Linked DNA regions of Homo sapiens: regions 1 and 2 are each linked to region 3. Evidence: promoter capture Hi-C in human tissues and cell types (Jung and others, 2019). All regions are on one chromosome and are shown on one strand. The core of a region is centred on a gene start or on the middle of the fragment in contact, and the rest is flanking DNA. Distances in the headings are between cores, read along the strand shown. Region 1 overlaps ANAPC10 (anaphase promoting complex subunit 10). Region 2 has its middle 50 kb from the start of OTUD4. Region 3 holds the start of ZNF827 (zinc finger protein 827).

Region 1 (4,646 bases), core at 1,639-4,138, 870 kb before region 3:
ATGCAGTTATATTTCTCAAATATCAGTTCTGTCTGTTTTATAAAGTTGATATTTTGGCCGCCTCCTGCTACCACAGATACGAGCATCTGCTGAATAATTTCTCATTGGGTTTGGAACCCATGAAATTCTGATTGAAGACATTAGTGACATATTCCTAGTTGCCTAACCTAAAATCCCTTTATCCCCTCTTTCTTCATAACATCTGGCTAAAAGATCCAACTTCCCTTAAAGTTAGGTAGAGCCATATGACTAAGTTATGGCCAGTAAGATTTAAACAAAATGATGGTGTGTACTAAAGAAAGTTTCTTTAAAAGAAAAACATGCCCCTTTTACCTTTCTCATCTACTCCTTCCTGCTGCCTGGGATATGGACATGATAGGTGGAATTCCAGTAGGCATCTTGGACCATAAGACAACCTTGAGGATAAAATCTACAAGCTAAGAATGAAGGAATGTAAAGAGAAGGAAACTGGGTCCACAAACACACTGTGAGGCTGCCATACCACTCCTGGACTGCCAGGCTCCTCTTACACGAAGAGGTAGAAGAAATAAATTTCCACCTTGTAGAAAACACCATTATCAAAAGCTCTGCTACTATATGTTCTGATTTCTAATTAATACAGCATTACTGTGTCTGTATTACAGATGCAGAAACTGAGGTTCACATCAGGTTAAGCAAGTGGTCCTTGTTTACACATCTAGTAAAGCACAGAGCCAGAATTTAATCCAGGTCTATGTGACTACATTATATAAGAGTAACTAATAAACCCTAAGGTACAAAACTTAAAACTAAATATATGTGATAGACGATAGCTTTACATTTAAAGCTAAATGTAAAAAACAAAATAGTTATAAAACATGTTTTTAAAATCGTTCTTCTTAACGTGCTAGATATATTACCAGGAGGTTGAGACAAAATAAACACAGTCCACATAGTTGTTTAAATCAGAAGCAAATATTTATAAATAACTATATTCTTCCATATATGTTCCTGGTATAAAAGTGAAAAATGGGGGCCGGGTGCAGTGGCACACGCCTGTAATCCCAGCACTTTGGGAGGCTGAGGCAGGCAGATCACAAGGCCAAGAGATCGAGACCATCCTGGCCAACATGGTGAAATCCCGTCTCCACTAAAAATACAAAATGTAGCTGGGTATGGTGGCATGTGCCTGTAGTACCAGCTACTTGGGAGGCTGAGGCAGGAGAATCGCTTGAACCCAGGAGGTGGAGGTTGCTGTGAGCCAAGATTGCGCTACTGTACTCCAGCCTGGTGACAGAGCGAAACTCCATCTCAAAATAAGAAGTGAAAAATGTCCTCTGTATCAATGTTAACTAGATGCTAAGATGAAAGTTTTCGCGGAAGACTACAACAACAAAGACCATGTTTTGAAAGGATATATGAGACCTTAATGCATAATTTTCAGCAGATACGGTCTTAAAATAAAATAAAACAAGAAAGTCCGAGACATCTGCTCATGAAGGTTAACTGCTACATGACTTGCCTTCCCACTACAGACAACTAGAATACTGGAGAACATATCTGAAGCATCCAGAGATGCTGAGCAACAGGCAGCACAGGCCTCTAGGTCCTGAGAGAAAGAAAATAAATGAGGTGAGCCCTACAAACAACTGAGTTTTCTGGCTGCAGGCAATTTTGGGACTGCAATGTGAAGAGGGAGATGCCAAAGAGAATCTAGTAGTCTACTGAATTGATAAGGAATAAGCTACACAAAGAAAAAACTCCAGAAATATGCGTGGGGTCCCCTTCATTCTATGCCTGAACACAATATGAACATGCATACAGCAAAACTTCACAAGGATAGGCAAAGAACAAGCACTGGGGAAAGAACAATTACTGGAAAGCAGTAAGCCAAACAATTTCCAGTGGGCACAGAGGACTGGGAATCATTAAAGCTCCCAATAACCGAAGTGGTAAGTCCTCTTCAAATACCTAAGACATTCGTTTGAGATCCCAGATGAGTCAAGCCTTAGTAATGAGGCTAATCTTGCCCAAGAGAAATGATCTTAAAGAGTGGTCTGGGGACCTACAGAGGACCTCAAGACTCTTTCAGAGGATCAGCAAGGTCAGAACTATTTTCTTAATATTACTAAGATGTAATTTGCCTTTTTCAGAATCATTCTCTTATGAGTATGTAGTAGAGTTTTCCACAGGCTGACATGGGATATTGTAAAAGATTTAATGAACAAGCAGAAATGAGACTCCAGCTATTTTTTGTGAACCAAAAAGGTTCACAAAAAATGTAAACAATGACACTCTTCTCACTATTTTTGTTGTTGTTCATTTGGGAAGAGACAGTTATTTTTCATAAAATTGTTATTTATGTTGTTAACACATAATAGGTTAATTATTGTTTATTTTTAGTGAATAACTAAATAATTTAAAGTCCCTAATCTATAATTTCTAAAATAGTAAATAATGAGATACATATATAAAGATTTCTGAAGTCCTCAATAAAAGTTTAAAGCAGTACTGAGACTAAAAAGTTTAAGAACTTCTGCTCTAAAGCAGGGCTTGGTAAGCTACAGCTTGCAGGCTAAATGTGGACCGCCACCTATTTTTGTAAATAAAATTTTATTGAAACTAAGTGACACTCCGTCATATACACATTGTCTATGGGAGCTTTAATACTACAATGGCAAAGTTGAGCAATTGCAGCAGGACATATAAAGAAGTCTTACAGCTTAACAACAAAAAGACAACCCAATGTAAAAAGAGGGAAGGGACTTAAGCAGTCATTTCTCTGAAGAAGATATACAAATAACCAGGAAGCACATGAAAAAAATGCTTGATAGCACAAAACATTAGGGAAATGAAAATCAAAACTATAATGAGACAGACTCATTAGGATGACTATTATCAAATGTTGGCATGGATGTGGAGAAACTGGAACTTCTGGGCATTACCAGTGGGAAGGTAAAATGGTACAGCTACTGTGAAAAACAGTATGGAGGTGACTCAAAAACTTAAACATAGAATTACCATATGATCCAGCAATTCCACCTGTGGATATATATCCAAAAGAAGTGAAATCAGGTACTTGAACAGATATTTGCACACCAATGTTCATAACAGTATTATTTACAACAGCCGAAAGGTAGAAACAACCCAATGTCCTCTGACGAATGGATAAACAAAATGTGGCACAGTCATACAATGGAATATTATTCATCCTTAAAAAGGAATGAAATTCTGACACATGCTACAACATGAATGAACCTTGAAAACATTAGGCTAAGTGAGAAAAGTTAGACACCAAAGGACAAATATTATATAATTCCACTTATATCAGGTCCCCAGAACAGTGAAATACACAGAGGCAAAAAATAAAACAGCGATTATCATGGGCTGGAGAGAAAAGGAAATTGGGTGGTTATTATTTAATGGGTTCCACACAGGATGATGAAAAGTTCTGAAGATGGAGGTGGTAGTGGTTGCACAACACTGTAAATGTACTTAAGGATACTTAACTGTACATTTAAAAATGGCTGGCCAGGAACAGTGGCTCATGCCTGCAATCCCAACACTTTGGGAGGCTGAGGAGGGCAGAGCACCTGAAGTTGGGATTTCGAGAATAGCCCGACCAACATGGAGAAACCCCATCTCTATTAAAAATACAAAATTAGCCAGGCGTGGTGATGCATGCCTGTAATCCCAGCTACTTGGGAGGCTGAGGCAGGAGAATTGCTTGAATCTGGGAGGCAGAGGTTGCAGTGAGCCAAGATCGTGCCATTGCACTCCAGCCTGGGCAACGAGAGTGAAACTCCGTCTCAAAATAAATAAATAAATAAAAAGGCTATAACAGTAAACTTATATTTATATTTCACTACAAATAAAAAAAATCTTTACTGTTTATTACTCACCATCTCAACAGAATATTAAATAAATAATATTGAATTTTATTATTCACCATCTCAACAGAATAAAGAAAAACCATATGATCCGTATGAACAGATACAGAAAAGGCATTTGAGAAAATCCAAAAATGTCTCAAGAAACTGGGAAAAGGGAACTTTATAACCTGATAACCTGAAGGGTTATCTTAGTTTCTTTCTAGAAAGGATGAATAATCCTCATCAGGAAGCTGGAGGTACTACCATGTAAAAAAGAAGATGATTAATATACCCTCAACAAGAGAACTGCAGATAAATCATCCATAGCATTAAGTGAATGTGGGTGGCTGATTCTCTCAACCCACAAAAGCATCCATAAGATAATAGTCAGCTTTAAACATACAGCCAAGTACAGAGAACATCAATGCTATATCACCAAGATACAAATGGCAATTACAGACTTTCCTTCTTTTCTTACCTCTTCTTCGTTCCCATACTAGCAGATCTAACAAATTCAGAAATGTGAAAGGACAAAAAAAACACAAAAAAAACAAAAAAAAACTAGGTAGGGTAAGAGAAGCAAACTACACCCAACTTGCAACAAGCCCAAGTTTAGGGAGAGGAATAAAACTTAAAGAAACTTTAAAGCAAGATTGAGGCTTTCACTACTCACTAGAACTGAACACTTCTATTTCTAAAATATATTTTGCCATTTGAAATAAACATAAAACTGGGTAGGTTACCAAAAAGTGTGCTATATGCTCCCCACCAAGTTCTCATCCAGAGCAGAGAAAG
Region 2 (4,085 bases), core at 1,074-3,573, 710 kb before region 3:
ATTGGCTCCTACTGTAAAGTGTCTCCCAGTTAGGCTACATGGGGTTCAGGGACCCACTTGGGGACAGTCTGTCTGTTCTCAGACCTCAAAGGCCATGCTGGGAGAACCACTGCTCTCTTCAGAGCACAGTTGGAAATGTAGAAATCACCTGTCTTCTGCATCAATCGTGTTGGGAGCTGCAGACCGGAGGTGTTCCTATTCGACCATCTTGGAATGGAACCCCCATTTAGATGCATTTTGACATATGCCTATGTTATGGTTTTAATGTGTCCCCCAAAATTTCATGTGTTGGAAACTTAATTGCCTTTGTAACAGTATTCAGAAGTGGGGCCTCTAAGAGGTGAAAGATTAATGCCATTATCTTGGGAGTGGTCTCCTGATAAACAGATGAGTTTGGCTTGATTTTCTCTCTGCCTTGTATGCTTCCTTGTCATTCTGCCTTCCACTGTGGGGTGACCCTTGGCAGATGCTAGAGCACCATGCTTTTGGACTTCCCAGTCTGCAGAACCATGAGTCAAATAAATCTAAGGGCTAAGGGGGCAATATGAGGGATTGGCAATTGGAAGCTGGCAAAGGCTGAATGTGCCAGACAAAAGTAGGGTCTTAGTGGGGGCACACAACTATTGCCATACTGTAGACCTGCAGGAAGCTAGCCAGGCCTCTGCTCCTGCCTGTTGACTTCTGGAACCAACTGGAAGCCAGAAGACAGGGGATCCATGATGCATTCTGCACAGCTCAGTCACCAGAGGTTCAAAGAAGAGCCAGAAAGAATAGATAGTGGGTCTGGAGAAGCATACAGAGAATATCCATGTACAGACTTCCAACAATACCCTGTTCTCCTTATACATTAATGCCTTAAACTACTCACTTCTGATCTAGAAAGTCATAATACATGGTTTCAATCTAGAGACTAGTGGTTCTCAAAATTTTCTTTCTATACTTTCCTAATGTCAGATTATTCTAGGAAGTAAACACTCATCCAGGAGCCACATTTCCCATCCCCTTGTATGTAGGTGACACATTGAGACTGAATTGACCAATGGGAGGTGAGTATAAAGGGTTTATCCCTCTTTCAAGCTTGGCTCATGAAAAACTGCATGTTTGATCATCCATGCTCTTTTCCTCTTTAAATTGGCTGGAATGAAGGCAAACTTTACTATTATGATGTTAGGAATCATATGTTGAAGATGAAAAGGTCAAAGATGGATGAAATCTGAGTCCCTGAATCACTATTTAGAGAGCTCATAGAAACAGAAATACTTGCACTGGAAGAAAAAATAAAATACATACAAGAAACTTATTCATTAGGGAGGCGCTATGGTTTGAAAGCTTATGTCCCCCTCAAAATTCATGTTGAAACTTAAATACCCAGTGCAATGGAATTAGGTATAGAGGGCCTGTAGAAGCTGATTAGGTCATGAGGGTGGAGCTCTCATTAGTGACCTTGGGGGTGGAGAGAACTAGTCAGGCCCTCTTGCCTGTCTTCCTCCCACCATGTGAGTATGCAACAACAGAGCACCACCTATGAAGCAGAGAGCTGACTTCACCAGACACAGAACCTCCTGGCACCTTGACCTTGGACTTCCCAGCATCCAGAACTGTGAGAAATAAATTCTATTTGTTATACATAAAAAAAAAAAAGAAGGCCTGGTGCAATGGCTTATGCCTGTAATTCCAGCACTTTGGGAGGCCAAAGCAGGCAGATCACTTGAGGCCAGGAGTTCAAGACCAGCCTGGGCAACATGGTGAAACCCCGTCTCTATTCAAAATGCCAAAAAATTAGCCAGGCATGGTGGTCCCAGCTACTTGGGAGGCTGAGACTGGAGAATCGCTTGAATCCGGGAGGTGGAGGTTGCAGTGAGCTGAGATGGCACCACTGCCCTCCATCCTGGGTGACAGACCAAGACTCTGTCTCAAAAAAACAAAAACAAACAAACAAACAAAAAACAAAGAGAGAGAGATTGGTGGTTCTTAATTCCTTTGGGGTCACAGATTTTAAGATGTGCATGTAAGTACTCACACAAATTTATGTACAATATTTTGCCTCCTCAGAGACAGATAATATTTTAGTAAATAATGAATTTGATTTTTTCACTTATATTCTCAGAAAAAAAAGTGGCCAATATGTAACAACTTAAAAAATAAATCCAAATTGTGTATTTAAAATTTAAAAAAAAGAAATTCAATAGGAAATTTCTGTTAACAAGGACATTCCAAAAGTACATGGATTTTTTTTTTTTTTTTAACTTCAATAAGAACAACTTTTGGAGCGGTCACTGGCAGGTTAACATGCCAACTTTTTCAACTTTGACATTCCACAGATGTCAACTCTAACACTAATGATAGAAAGTTATGAAATCTCTGACTTCCAAGGGTGAGTAATTGCAGATGGAATCAAAATTCCCATTGCTTGCTTGCTTTTTCAAGTAAGGATTGTATCAAAAAATACCAGAATTCTCAAACAGTTTATGAGTTAGATTCTATTTGTGCCTTTTTTTTTTTCCCCAGATCATTGAGAACATCTTTGTTACTGGCACTGTCTACATGGTATTTTGAGCAGAGTTTTGCAGTGTTTCCAAGTGCTGCAGTTTCTTCCCGCAGAGAGATGGCCACTACAGACTCTAGCTGCCAGAAGAATTTCCCCCAGATCTGGAAAGTTTCTACAGTTGCTTACCTCGAATATTCACATACAGAGAGGTACTTCCTCCAAAGTGCGGTTTTCCAACAACTCCATAATGGTGAGTATGAGACCTGTAGTTAGGAGTATGGGCTCCAAATTTAGACTACCAAGGTTAAAAGCTTTGCTCCACCCCCTTGCTAACCATGGTAATTTAAGCAAGTGACTTGCCTGTTTCTTCATCAGTGAGTAAAACAGTACCTATTTGATAGGATTATTATAGGAATTAGCTTAATTCAGATAAAACCTTATAATAGGGGCATCTGCATTTTTTAGTTGTTCAAATGGCCACATATATCTGGAAGACTATGAAAAAATCTCTTCCTTGCTGTTCGTTCTTCTGTTCATTCATTCATATATTTCTAAGTATTTACTGAGCACCCACTATGTGCTCAGCATTGTGCTGTGTGCCAGAGATACAATGATCAGCTAAAATAGAATCAGTGCCTGGCCTCATTGAGCCTTCAGTCTAATGGGGAAGACAGATATTAATCAAATAGTCATAAACACACATGTAAAGTTGCTGTGGAGAAAAGGTATATTGTTCTGTGAGAAAAAATAATGGAGACTTAACCAATAAGAAAACATTGTTTAATCTGCAATCTTAAGACTAAGTAGAAGTTATCAAAGAGTTACTTACCCCAAGTTCAATTAAGTTCTATTAGACTTAACTTCCAGACAGCTGATGAATTTCCATATAGCAAAAGAAAACTTCATAATCTGCTTTTCTAAGAAAACTTCTTGAAAAGACAGAAATGCAAGGCTCTGAAGCTAAATAGGTTGATGACTTTGTGGTTGCAAGCAAAATTTTATTTGGGATTTACCTTTGACACTAATGCAAGACAATCTAGAATGGAATGAATCTCATTGCTAGTTCTCCAAGCATGCATAGTATCAATGTTTCTTTGAGTGGAAATTTTGTTTGGCCAATAAAGTTTTTACAATTTCAACACCATAGGAGGCCTTTGAACTTTCTAAAAGTGCTCCCAAAATAGAAATCCTCATTTGATGCTGTTCTTGTGCAGATAACATGGGAACTGGACCTGGCTCTGCCAACAGATGTCAATACTTTCACGATGAAGAGAAATAGCGATTCCTTCATGATCTGCTTCAAAATATTGGAATAGATTTTAGTGATTCTGGAATGGATGAGAAGATTTGACAGAAGCATTGTTTTACTTTTTAAATTTTCCTTCAAATTACAAATCAGAATAACCATTTCCAGGACATTTTGCTTCAGCAAGGTCTTTTATTTAGTCGTGCAGCAAGCGATCTTGCAGGATGACTCAAGACAATACATCTTTGTGTTGGAGAAAATCCAAGTTTTTAATGCTTTCCAATTGACCCTTTTACTAAGGCAAAAGAGGCAGACTGTGCAGTGTATTTTCAGGATGTAAGGGATCACTTC
Region 3 (4,742 bases), core at 1,341-3,840:
ACTCTTCCACCAACTGCTGCGAGTTTTCTGTGAATCGCAGCGCGGAGCCTCCCAACTCGCCCTCCCCGACTCCACCGCCTTCTCCTTCCTCGCACAAAATTTCCCTACACACGCAGCCGCCTGCGAGTGATTTTATGTGCATATATATTACATATGTGATATTATCCTCAGAACCTCTAGCGGGCAGGCGAAGAAAGGACTGCACAGGGGCATTTTTTTTTTTTAAAGGAAGGGGAAAAAAGCACAACCCAAGCCCTTTGCGTCGACTCCTGCGTACCGGGAAGGGGAAAGAAAGAGGAATGTTTGCGGAGCGGACTGCTTGCAAGTGCCCTTGCTCGCCACTTCGGCTGCGGCCCGGGTGACACGGAGGCGCGGGGGCGCCTGGCCCGAGCAGCCCGCGCCCCCCTCCCGGTCCCCTGGGCAGGCACCGCCGCGGTTATTTCGCGAGGGGGAGATCGATCGCCCTGCCTGTCTGCAGCGGAAAAGCACAAGCTCACACACAGCCCGAGCCCGAGACACCATAACCTTAACCCTTCCCCCACCCTCCGTGAACTTCAGGTGACCGACCACGTCGGCCTGACACCCGGGCGGGCGGGCGCTCCGGCTCCACTCCCGCCCCCAGCCCGGGTTTTGCAGGATCGGGCTCCGAGCAGCGCCAAACCGCCGGGAGAGGGGAGTAGTGTGGGGGGAGAGAAGAGAAATTGACCCTCCGTCTCCCCCGACCCCTCCCTCCGGCGCCTCCCGCGTCCCCTCCTCCCCGTCACCCCGCCCCACGCCTTCTCCCCTGCCCCCTCTTCCCTGCATTCAAGGAGCCGGGCGGCCCCGGGGGATATTTTTAGTTGCTTCTTTCTCCTTCACTTTTAGCTTTAGCAGCATCTCGAAACACTCAAAGCGGAGAAAGACTGGGGGGTTGGGGGGAGCTGGAGAGGGAGTGGGGGAAAAGTTAAGAGTCGCGCAAAGAAAAGCCGGAGGGAGGGCGGAGAGGGACCGGGGGCGCGGGTGGAGGAGGGGAAGGGGACCGGGCCGTGCCGGCGGGTGTGTGTCTCCAGTTGGCGTGTGTGGCTGCCGCCGGGGAGGGCTGTGATGCACTTTAGTCCTGGACTCTGCTCAGGCTCGCCAAGGAGGGGGTCTGAGAGCCCGAGTCTCGCCCGGCTCCGTCTGCTCCGACTGACCCCGCATTTTATTGCGGCCAGGAGCCCTGCTCCTCCCTCTCCTCCGCTCTGCAGGGACCTCGCGCGCCGCGAGCCGCCCTGCCTCCTGCCTTCGCCTCGGCGCAGCTCCCGCACCCCACATCCGCCCGCCGCTGCCCGGCCTCGCCCCCCGCCCGGCCGCCCCGCGCCCCGGCGCGCCCCCTCGCCTCGGCGCCGCGGGAGCAGCCGCCCGGCGGCGCGTGTGTACCCGTGTGTTTGTGTGCGGTGCCCCTACACCCTCCCCAGCCGCTCCCGCCTCGCCCGCCCCCGACTCCCCTCCTCCGCCGCCGCCTCCTCCACCTCCGCCTCCTCCTGCTCCAGCCGCCGCCGCCGCTGCCGCCGGCGGCTCGGGGGCCGACCAACCCCGGCGCAACCTTTAGCCAGGGACGGACCTCTCCCTGGATCCTGTACCCGGCGGCTGCTGCGCGCCCTCTCCCCGACACCCCCAAACGCCATGTCACGGCCCCCAGCCCTCCGCGCGCCCCGACCCCCGCACCCTCAGGCGCCGGAATCCACAAGGAATTTTTTTTTTTTTAAGATTCCAACCTCTCCCACCTCCCCCCACCAAACCCCCGATAAAACCCCCGGCATCCACACTACTCCCCTCCTCCCTTCTCTTGCCCCCTCCCCCCAGCAACCCAGAGTGAGGAGGGGGAAGGGGAGGGAAAGGGAAAAAAAAGCCCGATCTCAAGGAAAAAAAGGGGGGGGGTGAGAGAAAGAAAGAAAAAGAGAGAGAGAATAGAAAGGGCACGGGGCTGATCATCACCAACATGGCTGCCTCAGCATAGACCTAAACGAGGAGTAACCCGGGCTGTGTCTTTGTCAGTTTCACCTCTGTAACCCTAAACTAATGCAGAAAACAACGGAGGAGGCTGCGGAGGGGAAAGAGGAGAGGGAGGGCGAGAAAATGGCACGAGAGGAGGTGGAGAAGGGATGACTTACGTGAGGGAAGGCGCTTGGGCTGCTCCTGCTTCCTCCTGGGCATTTTCCCCCTTTTCTCACATTCTCCTCCTTGGTTAATGTGAGATCAAATAAACCCCCGTGGGGGCAGAGAGGCAGACACTGGCAGGAGCGGGGAGGTAGTTGGGGGGCGGGCGGGCGGGCAGGGGGAAACCCCTTCTCCGGTGTGTGCAATGGGTTGAAGCTTGTTTCCTGGAGCCAGAAGAGGGGTTTTCTTCTTTTCTTTCCTTTCTTTTTTCCTTTTTTTTTTTTTTTTAAATTTTTGGTCGTGCACCTGGCTTGTCCCCGAGCGTAATATTCTTCAATGGAAACGGATCTAATAGGTGTGAGTGTGTGTGTGTCCTATGCTCGCGTGTGTGATGGGAGGTATAAATAAATGAGTGCCGGTGCGGCGGTGTCTATGGCCGCGCTCTGTGTCTCCGAGCCCCTAACACTAATGTCGGGATCAAAGGGCAGCGGCGGCGGCAGCACAGCTCACAGCTCGCTCTCTTGCTCTCTCTCTCTCTCTTTCTCGCTCTCTCTCCTCTCGCGCTCTCTCTCTCGCTCTCTCTCTGTCACACACACACACACACAAGAGGCACAGACTGAGGGAAAGAGCGAGAGCTACACACACACACACGCACGCACACACACACACAGAGCAAAGAGGAAAGTGCCCCAAGGCTCCCAGGGCGGACTCAGCCTCGGATTTACAACCGCTCTGTCTGGAAAGAATGGGGGGCGCGCGTGCGGGGGTGGGATGGAGTTCTTCAAATTTATCCCGCTAGTCACCAAATCTAGGGGGAAAAAGTTTTTCTCACTCTTTAAACAACGATTAGTTCATTATTTTACTGACTTTTAAAAAGGAAATAAATTTCTCTCTTCACTTTCTTTTGTTTATTAAGCTACATTTTGTTCTGTATGAAATTCTGCAGGCTTTTGTCCCTACCCCATCACCTTAAATCTGGAGGTTATCGTCTCCCACACACTCTTCAAAAACATTCCAAAAAAACTAATTTAAAAAAAATGAAGACAACATATGGTGAAATCAATAACTTGGTTGACAGTTGACAGAATAAGTGCCCAGTTTTGGAGTGTCCACTGGAGTTAAAACTGAAAAATGCTCCTAAATGAACATTACAGCTACTTGACAAAGAGAGGAAAATAAGATTAGGTCACCCCTGATGGTTGCTTTAACTGCTACGTGATACTCCTAGAGTGCACACAGCAATCTTTACTTCGGAAATTCACTTTTTCCCCTGCTATATACTGCAGGTATATGAAGTTTACCCTGAAGCAATTCCAGTGTGCATTATGAGCCCAATATAGCAGTTTTCATTAACTGATACATACTTTCATTACCTTACAAATCACACATCTTTCTTCAAAGAGAGACATAAAGGAGAAAAATAGAAAAGGACGGGTCTCACTAGAGCACAAAAGGTACTTGGTGAAAGAGGACTGTTCTCTTTGTGACTTGCAGTCATTTGGATAAAAGTTCACTCAGAGGTTGTTAATGATTTAAACTCCAAAACCTGCTACTATAATTGAAATAAAAATGGTCTGAAGAAGAGTTGTTTCATAAAACTCTCTTTGTAAGAGGAAACTTTGAACTTAGCAGAATACATTATATGTCATGAGTCATGTAGCTAGAAAATAAAAAGGTGCATTATTTAACTACATCTTCCCTTTTTAGCTTTTTTAAAACTCTGACTCATCATCTTATTATGTTAAATATTTTCCTACCAATTTTTAAATAGACCTTTTCATCAAAGAAAGTGGAGGCACAGTAAAGACATAGAACATTAAAATGACACTCTATAAGCCTACATGGATAACTCATGCCTCTTTGAGGTTGAGTTAATTCTTACAACTTCAGTGGTGTTAAAGAGAGCCATGGGGGTTAAATTCTGACTTGCCTTATTAAAAATAATAATAAGGCTTTATATTGCACACTTTTATAAGTGAAGCTTAAAGAGTGCTGTATCTCCCAAAAGATGTCTTTCACTGATAGAGAAATCTCACGTTCAACCCCTCCCTGCCAACTCCCCCCAAAAGATCTAGCTTCCCAGTAACAAGTAATGCTATTGAAAGCGAGGTTTGAAACACCTGCATGAATTCAATCTAAAACCAAAACAGAGAGCAGTCAAGTTTAAAATGGAGCACCCTGTAATCCCAGCACTTTGGGAGGCGGAAGTGGGCAGATCACGAGGTCAAGAGATCGAGACCATCCTGGCCAACATGGTGAAATCCCGTCTCTACTAAAAATACAAAAATTAGCTGGATGTAGTGGCACACTCCTGTAGTCCCAGCTACTTGGGAGACTGAGGCAGGAGAATCGCTTGAACCTGGGAGGCGGAGGTTGCAGTGAGCCGAGATCGGGCCACTGCACTCCAGCCTGGCGACAGAGCGAGACTCCATCTCAAAAAAAAAAAAAAAAAAAAAAAAGGAGCATCATCCTTAAACCAGTTCTTCCTCAAATGTTGGTTTTAAAAAACTGGTAGTTAGGTTGCCCTGCATTATAATTTGAAATATAACTATCTTTCCACTCAGGTCAAATTCAATTTGCCATAATTTTGACTATTGTCGGTGACATTGGACTTGAAATTAATA

What was found. Contacts are between HindIII fragments. The study calls those that stand out against the background at their distance.
Region 1: a contact is called between a fragment that was not itself captured here and the fragment with the promoter of ZNF827 in region 3, in 1 of the 25 tissues and cell types used here (dorsolateral prefrontal cortex).
Region 2: a contact is called between a fragment that was not itself captured here and the fragment with the promoter of ZNF827 in region 3, in 1 of the 25 tissues and cell types used here (dorsolateral prefrontal cortex).

What each region holds. Positions count from the first base shown.
Region 1 is chr4:145,067,617-145,072,262 of GRCh38, forward strand. The region is part of intron 3 of ANAPC10 (anaphase promoting complex subunit 10); the gene reads right to left. Among named protein-coding and RNA genes, the nearest start is that of ANAPC10, 28 kb to the right of the region's middle. The HindIII fragment of the contact is 9,287 bases long and covers 1-4,646 here.
Region 2 is chr4:145,228,506-145,232,590 of GRCh38, forward strand. No RefSeq gene overlaps it. Among named protein-coding and RNA genes, the nearest start is that of OTUD4, 50 kb to the left of the region's middle. The HindIII fragment of the contact is 6,443 bases long and covers 1-4,085 here.
Region 3 is chr4:145,936,233-145,940,974 of GRCh38, forward strand. ZNF827 (zinc finger protein 827) reads right to left here and starts at 2,591. Exons shown (of 15, transcript NM_001306215.2): 1 at 2,133-2,591. The coding sequence starts at 2,175. RefSeq lists silencers at 254-833, 934-1,343, 1,464-1,533 and an enhancer at 1,908-1,967. The HindIII fragment of the contact is 3,959 bases long and covers 826-4,742 here.